4 separate regions of the Homo sapiens genome follow, and all the other regions are linked to region 2. Evidence: promoter capture Hi-C in 16 types of primary human blood cells and fetal thymus (Javierre and others, 2016). All regions are on one chromosome and are shown on one strand. Each heading gives the region's core, a stretch centred on a gene start or on the middle of the fragment in contact. The rest is flanking DNA. Distances are from core to core; before and after follow the strand shown.

Evidence for each region. The method cuts DNA at HindIII sites, captures the fragments that hold promoters and counts their contacts. A CHiCAGO score of 5 or more calls a contact.
Region 1: a contact is called between a fragment that was not itself captured here and the fragment with the promoter of CXCR3 in region 2, in 1 of 17 cell types (total B cells). The highest score is 5.2, in total B cells.
Region 3: a contact is called between a fragment that was not itself captured here and the fragment with the promoter of CXCR3 in region 2, in 1 of 17 cell types (naive CD8 T cells). The highest score is 5.9, in naive CD8 T cells.
Region 4: a contact is called between a fragment that was not itself captured here and the fragment with the promoter of CXCR3 in region 2, in 1 of 17 cell types (non-activated CD4 T cells). The highest score is 5.3, in non-activated CD4 T cells.

Annotation. Positions count from the first base shown.
Region 1 is chrX:71,294,792-71,297,511 of GRCh38, reverse strand. It overlaps NONO (non-POU domain containing octamer binding), which reads right to left. Exons shown (of 12, transcript NM_007363.5): 6 at 852-947; 7 at 465-661; 8 at 51-135. Among named protein-coding and RNA genes, the nearest start is that of ITGB1BP2, 5.6 kb to the left of the region's middle. The HindIII fragment of the contact is 894 bases long and covers 804-1,697 here.
Region 2 is chrX:71,617,213-71,619,912 of GRCh38, reverse strand. CXCR3 (C-X-C motif chemokine receptor 3) reads left to right here and starts at 1,402. Exons shown (of 2, transcript NM_001504.2): 1 at 1,402-1,475; 2 at 2,454-2,700. The coding sequence starts at 1,464. The HindIII fragment of the contact is 3,713 bases long and covers 1,250-2,700 here.
Region 3 is chrX:71,140,299-71,142,998 of GRCh38, reverse strand. It overlaps MED12 (mediator complex subunit 12), which reads right to left. Exons shown (of 45, transcript NM_005120.3): 42 at 2,142-2,364; 43 at 1,629-1,769; 44 at 1,035-1,116; 45 at 549-824. The coding sequence ends at 781. LOC124905197 (a long non-coding RNA gene) reads left to right here. Exons shown (of 4, transcript XR_007068262.1): 4 at 1-453. Among named protein-coding and RNA genes, the nearest start is that of NLGN3, 3.2 kb to the left of the region's middle. The HindIII fragment of the contact is 5,236 bases long and covers 1-2,700 here.
Region 4 is chrX:71,244,928-71,247,627 of GRCh38, reverse strand. It overlaps ZMYM3 (zinc finger MYM-type containing 3), which reads left to right. Exons shown (of 25, transcript NM_201599.3): 13 at 118-283; 14 at 936-1,033; 15 at 1,116-1,275; 16 at 1,530-1,642; 17 at 1,786-1,960; 18 at 2,143-2,289. Among named protein-coding and RNA genes, the nearest start is that of ZMYM3, 7.9 kb to the left of the region's middle. The HindIII fragment of the contact is 1,618 bases long and covers 470-2,087 here.

The DNA.
Region 1 (2,720 bases), core at 1-2,500, 320 kb after region 2:
AGACATTACCTTTTAGAGTTGTTAGGGAAAAAGTGTTCGAGAAAAGTTACCTGAGCTCCAGTTGCTTTCGTTTTTGCACCTCTTGGTTGTGCAGCTCTTCCATCCTCCGAAGTTCTTCTTGGCGCCTCATCAAATCTAAAAAAACAACAGACTAAGAATATTCCTCATTGTCTTCATATAGATCTAATGACTTTCTTCAAATAAAGATCCAGAAAGCAAAGAGGATCTAATTCCTTTGGAACCACCTGTGGTGTCCAGATTCCAAAATGAAGTTATACCTATCATTTCCTTCTCCACAGAATCCAGTATCTCTGCCACATCTCCAAGCCTATTTATCTACCAAAATCAACGCAAACTAAGTATAAAAGCAGAGATGTAGGCCCTTCTGTTAATTGATACAAAGAAACCCATTTAAAAATGTCATTTTGTCCTTTCAGCTTTAAGACTTACAGGCCTAGACTCACCCTGTCTCATTAGCATGACCTGGTGCTCATGGCGTGCAGCTTCCATCTCCATCTCCAGCTTCTCACGAGCCTCCTTGATGTTGCGGTCCACTTGGTCCTGCTGCTGCTTCTCCATCTCAATGAGTGCCTTCCAGCGCATGGCATATTCATACTCAAAGGAGCCAGGCTGTGCAAATCTGGGTGGCTGCTCTCGTTCCCTATAGGCAAGGTTCCTAGGTTACTAACTTTGTCCAGAATTACCCCAGCTAAGAATTGCATTCCTTGTGAGGACCAAGATAATGGCTGCCAGTGAACATGTGCAGCAAAGACCTGCCTCTTTTACATATCCCTTTATAAGCTTTCTTAAGAAGGAAACACCTAATAGGGAAATCTATCAAGACTGCATACTTGTGAAATTGCTGGTTTTTTATAACCAGCTTCTCTGGAAGTCCCTCTTCATCATCTAACTGGTCCATGGGCTCCACAGTCACAGGACGAGGAAATCTGGAAGAAAGAACAAAGTTCAGTGTTAATCAAATCATACCCCACCAGGCTTCTTCTCTACACATGTCACTGGCACAATGAATTAGCTAGGGCTCAGGATTGGAGGCTTCTGAAGTTTTTATACCTAATGACATTATAAAAAATTTGGGGTTGGGCTGGGGGTGGTGGCTCACGCCTGTAATCCCAGCACTTTGGGAGGACGAGGCGGGTGAATCATGAGGTCAGGAGTTCAAGACAAGCCTGGCCAACATGGTGAAACCCTGACTCTACGGACGTCTGTAATCCCAGCTACTTGGGAGGCTGAGGCAGGAGAATCACTTGGACCCGGGAGACAGAGGTTGAAATGAGCCGAGATTGTGCCACTGCACCACTCTAGCCCGGGCTACAGAGTGAGACTGTCTCAAAAAAAAAAAAAAAAAGAAAAGAAAAAGAAAAAAGAAAATCTGGGGTTGACAGGACGAAATCAGGACTTAGATCTCTGAATACAGTCTCAAAAAGATATTCCAAGTAGGTAGGTGCAGTACTTAAGTACAGCCTAAACATCTACAGACACTCTGAGAAATGACTTGTGGTAAACACTAAGAGATACTGCAGGCACAAATCAACTTTTCAGAACTCTAAATCTTCAAAGTAAAGAGAGACTTAACACTGACTACATGACAACCTACCGAATGACTAAAAAGTTATTTTTCATAATCGTCATCCCACGTCTATTAATATAAGATTACAGAAAAATCATACGAGAAAGCTTAGTACCAAAAGTCTTTTTTTTTGGAAACGGAGTCTTCCTCTGTCGCCCAGGCTAGAGTGCAGTGGTGCAATGTCGGCTCACTGCAACCTCTGCCTCCCGGGTTCAAGTGATTCTCCTGCCTCAGCCTCCCGAGTAGCTGGGATCACAGGCGCCCACCACCGCGTCCAGCTACTTTTTGTATTTTTAGTAGAGACGGGGTTTCACCACCTTGGCCAGGCTGGTCTCAAACTCAGGACCTCGTGATTCACCCGCCTCAGCCTCCTGAAGTGTTGGTATTACAGGCATGAGCCACCATGCCCAGGCTAATACCAAAAGTCTTTTTTTTTGGAGACGGAGTCTTGTTCTCTTGCCCAGGCTGGAGTGCAGTGGCGCAATCTCGGCTCACTGCAAGCTCCACCTCCCAGGTTCACGCCATTCTCCTGCCTCAGCCTCCAGAGTAGCTGGGACAACAGGCGCCCGCCACCACACCCGGCTAATTTGTTGTATTTTTTAGTAGAGACGGGGTTTCACCGTGTTAGCCAGGATGGTCTCGATCTCCTGACCTGGTGATCTGTCCCGCCTGGGCCAAAAGTCTTTTTTTTTTTTTTTTTTTTGAGACAGAGTCTTGCTCTATCGCCAGGCTGGAGTGCAATGGCACAATCTCGGCTCACTGCAACCTCTGCCTTCCAGGTTCAAGTGATTCTCCTGCCTCAGCCTCCCAAGTTGCTGGGACTACATGTGCGCTAATTTTGGTATTTTTATTTTATTTATTTGTATTTTTAGTAGAGACGGGCTTTCAGCATGTTGGCCAGGATGGTCTTGATCTCCTCAACTCATGATCTGCCCGCCTCGGCCTCCCAAATTGCTGGGATTACAGGCGTGAGCCGCTGTTTTGCCCAGTCTTTTATTTATTTTTTTGAGGCAGTTTCACTCTGTTGCCCAGGCTGGAGTGCAGTGGCGTGATCTCAGCTCGCTGCAACCTCTGCCTCCTGGGTTCAAGCGATTCTCCTGCCTCAGCCTCCCAAGTAGCTGGGAATACAGGC
Region 2 (2,700 bases), core at 153-2,652:
AGAGGAATTGTTCACCATTCTCTGCCATAAAGTGACTGATGTGCTGTACCAAGGCTGCCTTACAGCTTTTCCTTAAGATCAAGAAGTTCCTATGGCCTCCTCCCCAACCCCATCCTCCTTCTTGCCCGAGAAGCAACTGCTTTTATGAATTTGTGGTATCTCCTGTCCCTGTTTTAAACCTCGAGAACCAACAGTGTTATCCAAAACAACATGGTATTGATTTTGTGGTGGTTTTTAGAGTTTATGTAAGTGGCATCAAACTATACATGGCATTCTGTAACTTGCTTCTTCTACCATGTGATCGTTGGCTTTTCTAGATGCATCCATGTTCAAATGTGTAGCTTTAGTTCATTTGTTTTTAACTGCATGAATATATCATAGCTTATTCACTTAAAAGAAACTGAAGACAGTGTTCATGAGTAGGAAAAGGAGAATCAGACAGCCGTGGGATCAATCCTCACGCCCACCTTTAATTGCCGTGTCTGGCGAAGGCCTGTCCCCTTTCTGAATCATCCATGCAGATAACCCCGCACGTCACAAGTGAGTTGTGTGGTTGAAATAAGGCAGTGTCGGAGAAAGCACCTAAAGCAATGTCTATCACATAGCAAGTTCATTACTGGTAGTTCCCTTTCTTTTTCCCCACTGATTAGCAGGGAGAGGTGGTGGTAAAAAGCTAGATTTAGTGTAACGGCTTTTTAAAAAAATATTTTAATTCCCTTTTTAAGAGACAGGGCCTCACTCTGTCACCAGGCTGGAGTGCAGTGGTACAATTATATCTCAAGGCAGACTTGAACTCCCGGGCTCAAGCAATCCTCCTGTCTCAGGCTTCCAAGTAGTTAGGACTACAGGCACATGCCACCATGCCCGGCTGGCTTTTTTTATTTTTGGTAGAGATGGAGCCTCGCTATGCTGCCCAGGCTGGTCTCAAACTCTTGGCCTTAAGTGATCCTCTTGCCTCAGCCTCCCCAGTAGCTGGGATTACAGGAATGAGCCACTGCACCTAGCTGAAATTTTTAAGAAGGTGGATCTCCTCTGCAGACTTATTTCTCTACCCAGCCTTTACAATCATGCAAAGATCAACTCAAGGCCAGGACAGATGAGTTCCAATCTATGGAGCACTGACCCTACCAGTGCAGGCAGTAGGGTTGCCCTTCACTTCTCAGCTGCATTGCTTCCTCTTCAGACCTCTCTTCTCAAAGGACCTGCCCCCAGCCAGTCATCCTCTGCCCAGCTTTTCTGGTCCCAAGCTTGTAGCCAGCTCCTCCAGAGAGGTTTCACCCAGTCACGGAAACTCTGTGGCCTGAGGTTTAGGGAGGTCTGGTAGAGGTAACTCCCTGGAAGAGGCTGCTGCTGAGAACTGCCTGAAACTCCCACTTCCTCTGTGACTGCAGGTTTCCAACCACAAGCACCAAAGCAGAGGGGCAGGCAGCACACCACCCAGCAGCCAGAGCACCAGCCCAGCCATGGTCCTTGAGGTAAGTGCTGCTGCCCAGCCAGGCCAGGCCAGAATTCGAAGTGGAAAACCCGGGGCATCAGGGGAATGCCAGGGCTGGCCCACAGCCCAGGGTCACCACAGGGTTGGGTGAGTAGCTGGAGGCCGCATGGGTTGTGGCAGAAACAGCACTGGGGAATTGGGAACCCAGCTTGGCCACTGACCCTGGGTGCCTCTCCTCTCCTCTCTGGCTTCGGTGTCTCGTCTGCAAAATGGGGGGGGCGGGGGGCAAGTAGACTCGAAGGCTCCCTTCAGGAGACTTGGAACTTTGACTCTTGGCGTGCTGGACTAAATTGGTACTGGGGAGACCTGCAGGTCCATAGTGCTGGGGGTGAGGGGATAAAGAAGATTCCTTCTCAAGCTAAGTGGGGGATCCCCTTGTGGGCAGCTAAATGGCCGTGCAAGCCTCAGTGTAGGGAGGGGGAAGGACTGGGCAGACTGCATGCATTTGGGGGGCGTGGTGACTTGTAGAGAGGCCACACGGTGGGGGGGGGCGCAGGAAGTTGGGGTCCCCGGACAAGGGCCAAGGAGGGAAGAGGAGGGTTAGTGACTGGAAAAGGGGATTGTGGAGAGGCGCTGGGGAGGAAGGTGGTTGAACTATGTGTTGGGGGTGGGGCACTGAGGACGCAAGGCAAGCCTGAAGGGAGAGCAGGGAGAGAGAGGACAGTGGGCAGAGAGGGCTCTGGGCACTGGAGGGACGCTCTTCTTCCTGCCCAGGGGTCCCTGGGCCGATGGGATCACGCAGAAGAATGCGAGAGAAGCAGCCTTTGAGAAGGGAAGTCACTATCCCAGAGCCCAGGCTGAGCGGATGGAGTTGAGGAAGTACGGCCCTGGAAGACTGGCGGGGACAGTTATAGGAGGAGCTGCTCAGAGTAAATCACAGACTAAATCAGACTCAATCACAAAAGAGTTCCTGCCAGGCCTTTACACAGCCCCTTCCTCCCCGTTCCCGCCCTCACAGGTGAGTGACCACCAAGTGCTAAATGACGCCGAGGTTGCCGCCCTCCTGGAGAACTTCAGCTCTTCCTATGACTATGGAGAAAACGAGAGTGACTCGTGCTGTACCTCCCCGCCCTGCCCACAGGACTTCAGCCTGAACTTCGACCGGGCCTTCCTGCCAGCCCTCTACAGCCTCCTCTTTCTGCTGGGGCTGCTGGGCAACGGCGCGGTGGCAGCCGTGCTGCTGAGCCGGCGGACAGCCCTGAGCA
Region 3 (2,700 bases), core at 176-2,675, 480 kb after region 2:
AAGAGCAAAACTCCATCTCAAAAATAAATAAAAAGAGACTAAGGGCCTATACCTTAATGTGTTGCCATGTTGAAGAAGAGGAAGAGAGGGTAGCAATCCAATTAGAATTAAGAAATTTAGGCCGGGCGCGGTGGCTCACGCTTGTAGTCCCAGCACTTTGGGAGGCTGAGGCAGGTAGATCATGAGGTCAGGAGTTCGAGACAAGCCTGGCCAACATGGTGGAACCCTGTCTCTACCAAAAAAAACACAAAAATTAGCCGGGCGTGATGGCACATAACTGTAATCCCAGCTGCTCGGGAGGCTGAGGGAGGAGAATCGCTGGAACCCGGGAGGCAGAGGTTGCAGTGAGCCGAGATCGCGCCACTGCACTCCAGCCTGGGCGACAGAGCAAGACTCCGTCTCAAAAAAAAAGAAAAAAAGAAATTTTAGAGTGTAAGGTAAACAGGGGAGATGATCAGAATAGAATGAAGACTCTGACTTGTTGGTCCAACCCCCTGCATTCTCCCAAGAGACCACCCTTCCCAGACATGCAGAACTCGCACACTCCCTTTGCAAAGAAGCTCTGTGTATTGGGTGCAACAGCTCTGGGGTCTCTATATAAATAATATACAAAACCCAACAGCTCAATGCCTCACATTAACAAAAATACTAAAAACTTATTAAAAATGGAGCCTGAGGGGAGGGCCCCAACCACTACTGGTGCTAGCCCAGGAATGGGATTGGGAATTAAGAGGAAAGGGTGGGGCCACATCCAGTGCACAAGCAGTTCCTCCAGGTGGCTCAGTAGCGTCCAAATATGTTGGTACTGGGCTGTGGCTGGGTATCTGTGAAAAACCAGAGATTATCAGGGATGGAAGACCAGGCAGGGGTGTGGGTATGCACGAGGAAAGCTGTTCAGGTATCGAGGGAAGGGGATGGAATGGAATGCCTCCTCTCATAACCTGGGCCTGAAGCTATCGTTTCAGCTACTTTGGCCCACCCCGCCCCCTAAATTTATTCCATGGGGTTCTCCTTGGGAAGGCAGGCAGGCTTACTAGAGAGCTGTTGTTGAAGTTGCCGGACCAAAGCTGCTGTCTGTTGCTGCTGCTGGGTCTGCTGAAGCCCCTGGCGCTGGAACTGGGTGGAAATAGGAAGTGGAAGACTGAAGTCGAACTTTTCTCCTTCTTCAACCTCCTTTCCCAATCCGTTTTTTTTTTTGAGATGGAGTCTCGCTCTGTCCCCCAGGCTGGAGTGCAGTGGCATGATCTTGGCTCACTGCAACCTCTGCCTCCCAAGTTCAAGCAATTCTCTGCCTCAGCCTCTTGAGTAGCTGAGATAACAGGCACCTGCCACCATGCCCGGCTTATTTATTATTATTATTTTTTGTATTTTTAGTAGAGACGGGGTTTCACCATCTTGGCCAGGCTGGTCTTGAACTCCTGACCTCAAGTGATCCACCTGCCTTGGCCTCCCAAAGTGCTGGGATTACAGGCGTGAGCCACTGCGCCTGGCCTCCCAATCCATTTTTAGGGTGCCATGCCCTGCCTCCCACCTCTACCCTATTCCATACTGTCCCCAACCCAGTTCACTGGCTGCGTGCCCAACCTGGGCAGCTGTCCCTGAGCCTGGGGCTGTAGTCCAGCAGCTACCTGGGGCTGGGACTGGGGCTGGGGTTGGGGAGGAGCCGCCTGTTGCTGCTGTTGCTGCTGGTGTTGCTGTTGTTGCTGTTGCTGCTGCTGCTGTTGCTGTTGCTGCTGCTGCTGCTGCTGCTGTTGCTGTTGCTGCTGCTGCTATAAGAACACAAAAGATACTTCAGAAGGAGCAGAGGGAGGAAGCTAAGCCTCAGAACTAAAGGGCTGAGGGCAGGGGATGAGGAAGCAGGGTGGGAGCTCGGGGTCTACTGCCTTCCCTTTTTAGACAGCTGCACAGAAAGAAACCAAATCTAGGGTACCCAGCAGACAATGTCCAACTCTCTCCCACTATGATCCCCAGAAAACAAAAAGGGGGAGGGTAGAAAACTTCTCCAGCACCACTAGAGGCCAGCCGCTCTGCTAGGTGTTTTGGTACACTGCCTTGTTTAGTCTCGGTAACTGTGTGGGAAGAACTTGTGCCTCTCTTCCTCCCTGGGCTCCCAGGTCCCAGATGAAATCCCAGTGCCTTACCCGCAGGATCTGCTGCTGCTGCTGCTGCCGGATGTGGTACTGCTGCTGCTGCTGCTGCTGTTGCTGTTGCTGCTGCTGCTGCTGTTGCTGTTGCTGCTGTTGCTGCTGCTGCTGCTGCTCAGGTAGGATGGCTGTTGAACGGACGCCTGCCTGGACGCCCTGGGCACTCATTGGAGTCATGGTACTTATCATGGGTGTCTGCTGCAGTGTCTGGTGTGAAAACCTCCAAAGATAAGAGGGTCAGAGGTCAAGGCATGAGGGAGGTGAGGAGAGGGGGTCAGTATAAACCTTGGGTCCCTGACCTGAAAGAAACGTTAGCAGGTTATTTCATTCATTCCTCGTGTCACTAACCAGACTTCCAGTCTGGGGAATAAGTTGCATAAGATGATACTCTATTTTAGTGTCTCATAACCTTAATGGTTAGGAATTTTTCAATTCTGCATTAGCTATTTTTCTGTTACAAAAATGAAAAATAGGGCTGGGTGCGGTGGCTCACACCTGTAATCCCAGCACTTTGGGAGGCTAAGGTGGGTGGATCACTTGAGGTCAGGAGTTCTAG
Region 4 (2,700 bases), core at 29-2,528, 370 kb after region 2:
CTTCCATCTCTAAGCTGGCCCGATCTCCAAGGGGAGGAGCATGGCTTATCCCGGGGGAAAGAAAGGGCCCAACGCATTTTAGGGAGGCAGGTCTGACCATCCTTTTGACATCCTCAGGCTGCCCGGTGCCATGCGTGTAAGCGCCAGGGGAAGCTGCTGGAGACCATCCACTGGCGTGGGCAGATCCGTCATTTCTGCAACCAGCAGTGTCTTCTGCGTTTCTATAGCCAGCAGAACCAACCCAACCTGGATACCCAGAGTGGGCCCGAGAGCCTCCTGAACAGTGAGTCCCAGGCAGGGGGTACACTCTGTTAGAGGGAGCCTGGACTCTCCTAATCCTAAGCCTAGCCCCTTTCTCCTTCCTCTTGCGTTCAGCTCACCCCTGGCCAGATAGGGTGCTAGTACTGTGAACTGTATTCTCTTTTAGCTTCCGAACCCTGCAGGTACCGGGGGAGTCTTATTTAAAGCTTCTTGGAGTTAGCATCTACTGATTGTCTATGAAATATATATTGTTAGGGAGTGGGTGCCTTTCCTGGTAGGATGGAGCATATAGGGGTTATGGTTACGTTTCTGAGATAAGGAAATCTCAGCATAAACTCTACATTTAGTGAGACTGAAGACTGCTATTTCTAGAATGTTACCCCTGCCCCTCCACAACTCCAGGGATAACAGACTCTTCAGGCTATCTAAGTGGAAGGTCTCAAATGTGGGTTTTGGGGGAAAATGTAATGTTTCATTCTCCAGGAACAAATAATCTTTTAGGCTGCTATTGCTGGGGCATAGAGGAGACTAGATCTGGGATGGCAAGGGGGTCAAATCCTAGAAGTTCCCATCTGTATTTGGTGTACCTGTTAATGAAGCTCTCCTGGAACAGGGGTAAGGAAAATGGAGAGCTAGTCCCTTGGATGAGAGCATTCATTTGTTTTGATCTACAGGTCAGTCTCCTGAGTCAAAACCCCAGACACCCTCTCAAACCAAAGTGGAGAACAGCAACACAGTGAGGACCCCAGAGGAAAATGGGAATTTGGGCAAGGTCGGGGCAAAAGCCAAGGGGGAGGATAATCTCAGAGGAGGGTACGGCGGTTGGTGGCACAAATGTTCCTCTGTCTTTGCAGATCCCTGTGAAGACCCGATCAGCTCCCACTGCTCCCACCCCTCCACCCCCACCACCCCCAGCAACACCCCGCAAAAACAAGGCTGCCATGTGTAAGCCACTGATGCAGAATCGGGGCGTCTCCTGCAAGGTGGAGATGAAGTCCAAAGGAAGTCAAACAGGTGAGCCAGGGTACCTCGATGCCACAGGCTGTATTCCAGAGTCCTAGGCCTGCCAGCCCTATGTCCGTGAGCTGGACAAGGGGATTTCTTAGGTAGCTGAAGCCTCATTCATATGGTTGTCCTAGAATCATAGAGGTGTCTTTCAGCCTTTGATTCAAGGGCAGTTTTGTGACACTGAGCATGTTAGAGCTTTTGGTGGGTCAGATGTGACCAGTCCAGCAGGGTCTCTGAGAAGACCCCTTTCTTATCCACAGAAGAGTGGAAGCCACAGGTGATCGTGCTGCCCATCCCAGTGCCCATCTTCGTGCCAGTGCCTATGCATCTGTACTGCCAGAAAGTCCCGGTGCCTTTCTCGATGCCTATCCCGGTGAGTTTCCCTGCCCTTCCTGGCTGGGTCCTCCTTTCCCCTTACTCTCATCAACTGTCCCCCTTCACTCATCATCTGTCCCCCCAACTTCCCCCCAACTGCTGGTGTGGTTCTTGGCATTTAGTTGGGATTCGTGCCTCCAGGTGCCTGTGCCCATGTTCTTGCCCACTACCTTGGAGAGCACAGACAAGATTGTAGAGACCATTGAGGAGCTGAAGGTGAAGATCCCTTCCAACCCCTTGGAGGCCGACATCCTGGCTATGGCAGAAATGATTGCAGAGGCTGAGGAGTTAGACAAGGCCTCATCTGACCTTTGTGGTATGCCATAGATGGTGGCGACGAGGGAGACAGGGTGCTACCAGCATGTCTCTGCCCGAGGGGGTGGTATTGGTGATCTTGGTGCCTAGTAGAATGGGAGGATAGTTGGGATCAGTCCCTGAAAGCTTGTGAGGGTGCTAGCAGGAGCTTGTAACCACTGAGCCAACTTCTCTGCTTCCCAGATCTTGTGAGCAACCAGAGTGCAGAGGGACTCCTGGAAGACTGTGACCTGTTTGGGCCTGCTCGAGATGATGTCCTGGCCATGGCAGTCAAGATGGCCAATGTCTTGGATGAGCCTGGGCAAGACTTGGAGGCAGACTTCCCTAAGAGTGAGTAAGATTGGAGCCATGCCCACTGAGTATGGTAGCATTTGTGCCATCAGGAAGGGAGTGTCCCTTGTGTCCCTGAGCATGACCCTGAAAAGTGTTCATTGTGATTCTAAGACGGAAGGTTCTCACAGGGAGCAGTGCCAGAGACACCAGGACAGGTGCACTCTTTTAGACTTCTGAGTCATGCTTTTTTTTTTTTTTTTTTTTTTTTAATTTTTAAGCTGAAAAAAAACATAAAATTTTACCATGTTCAACATGTTTACGGTTCAGTAGTTCACATTGCTGTGTTTTGCGTTTCTGTGCCTCTGAGCATGCTTTTTGGTATAGCTTTACTGGTTCCTTTGGCTCATCTAGTGTCAAGTGGGCAAGTAGCAGGGGTGGGGCAGGAGGGCTGCAGGGTTGAGATCTTAA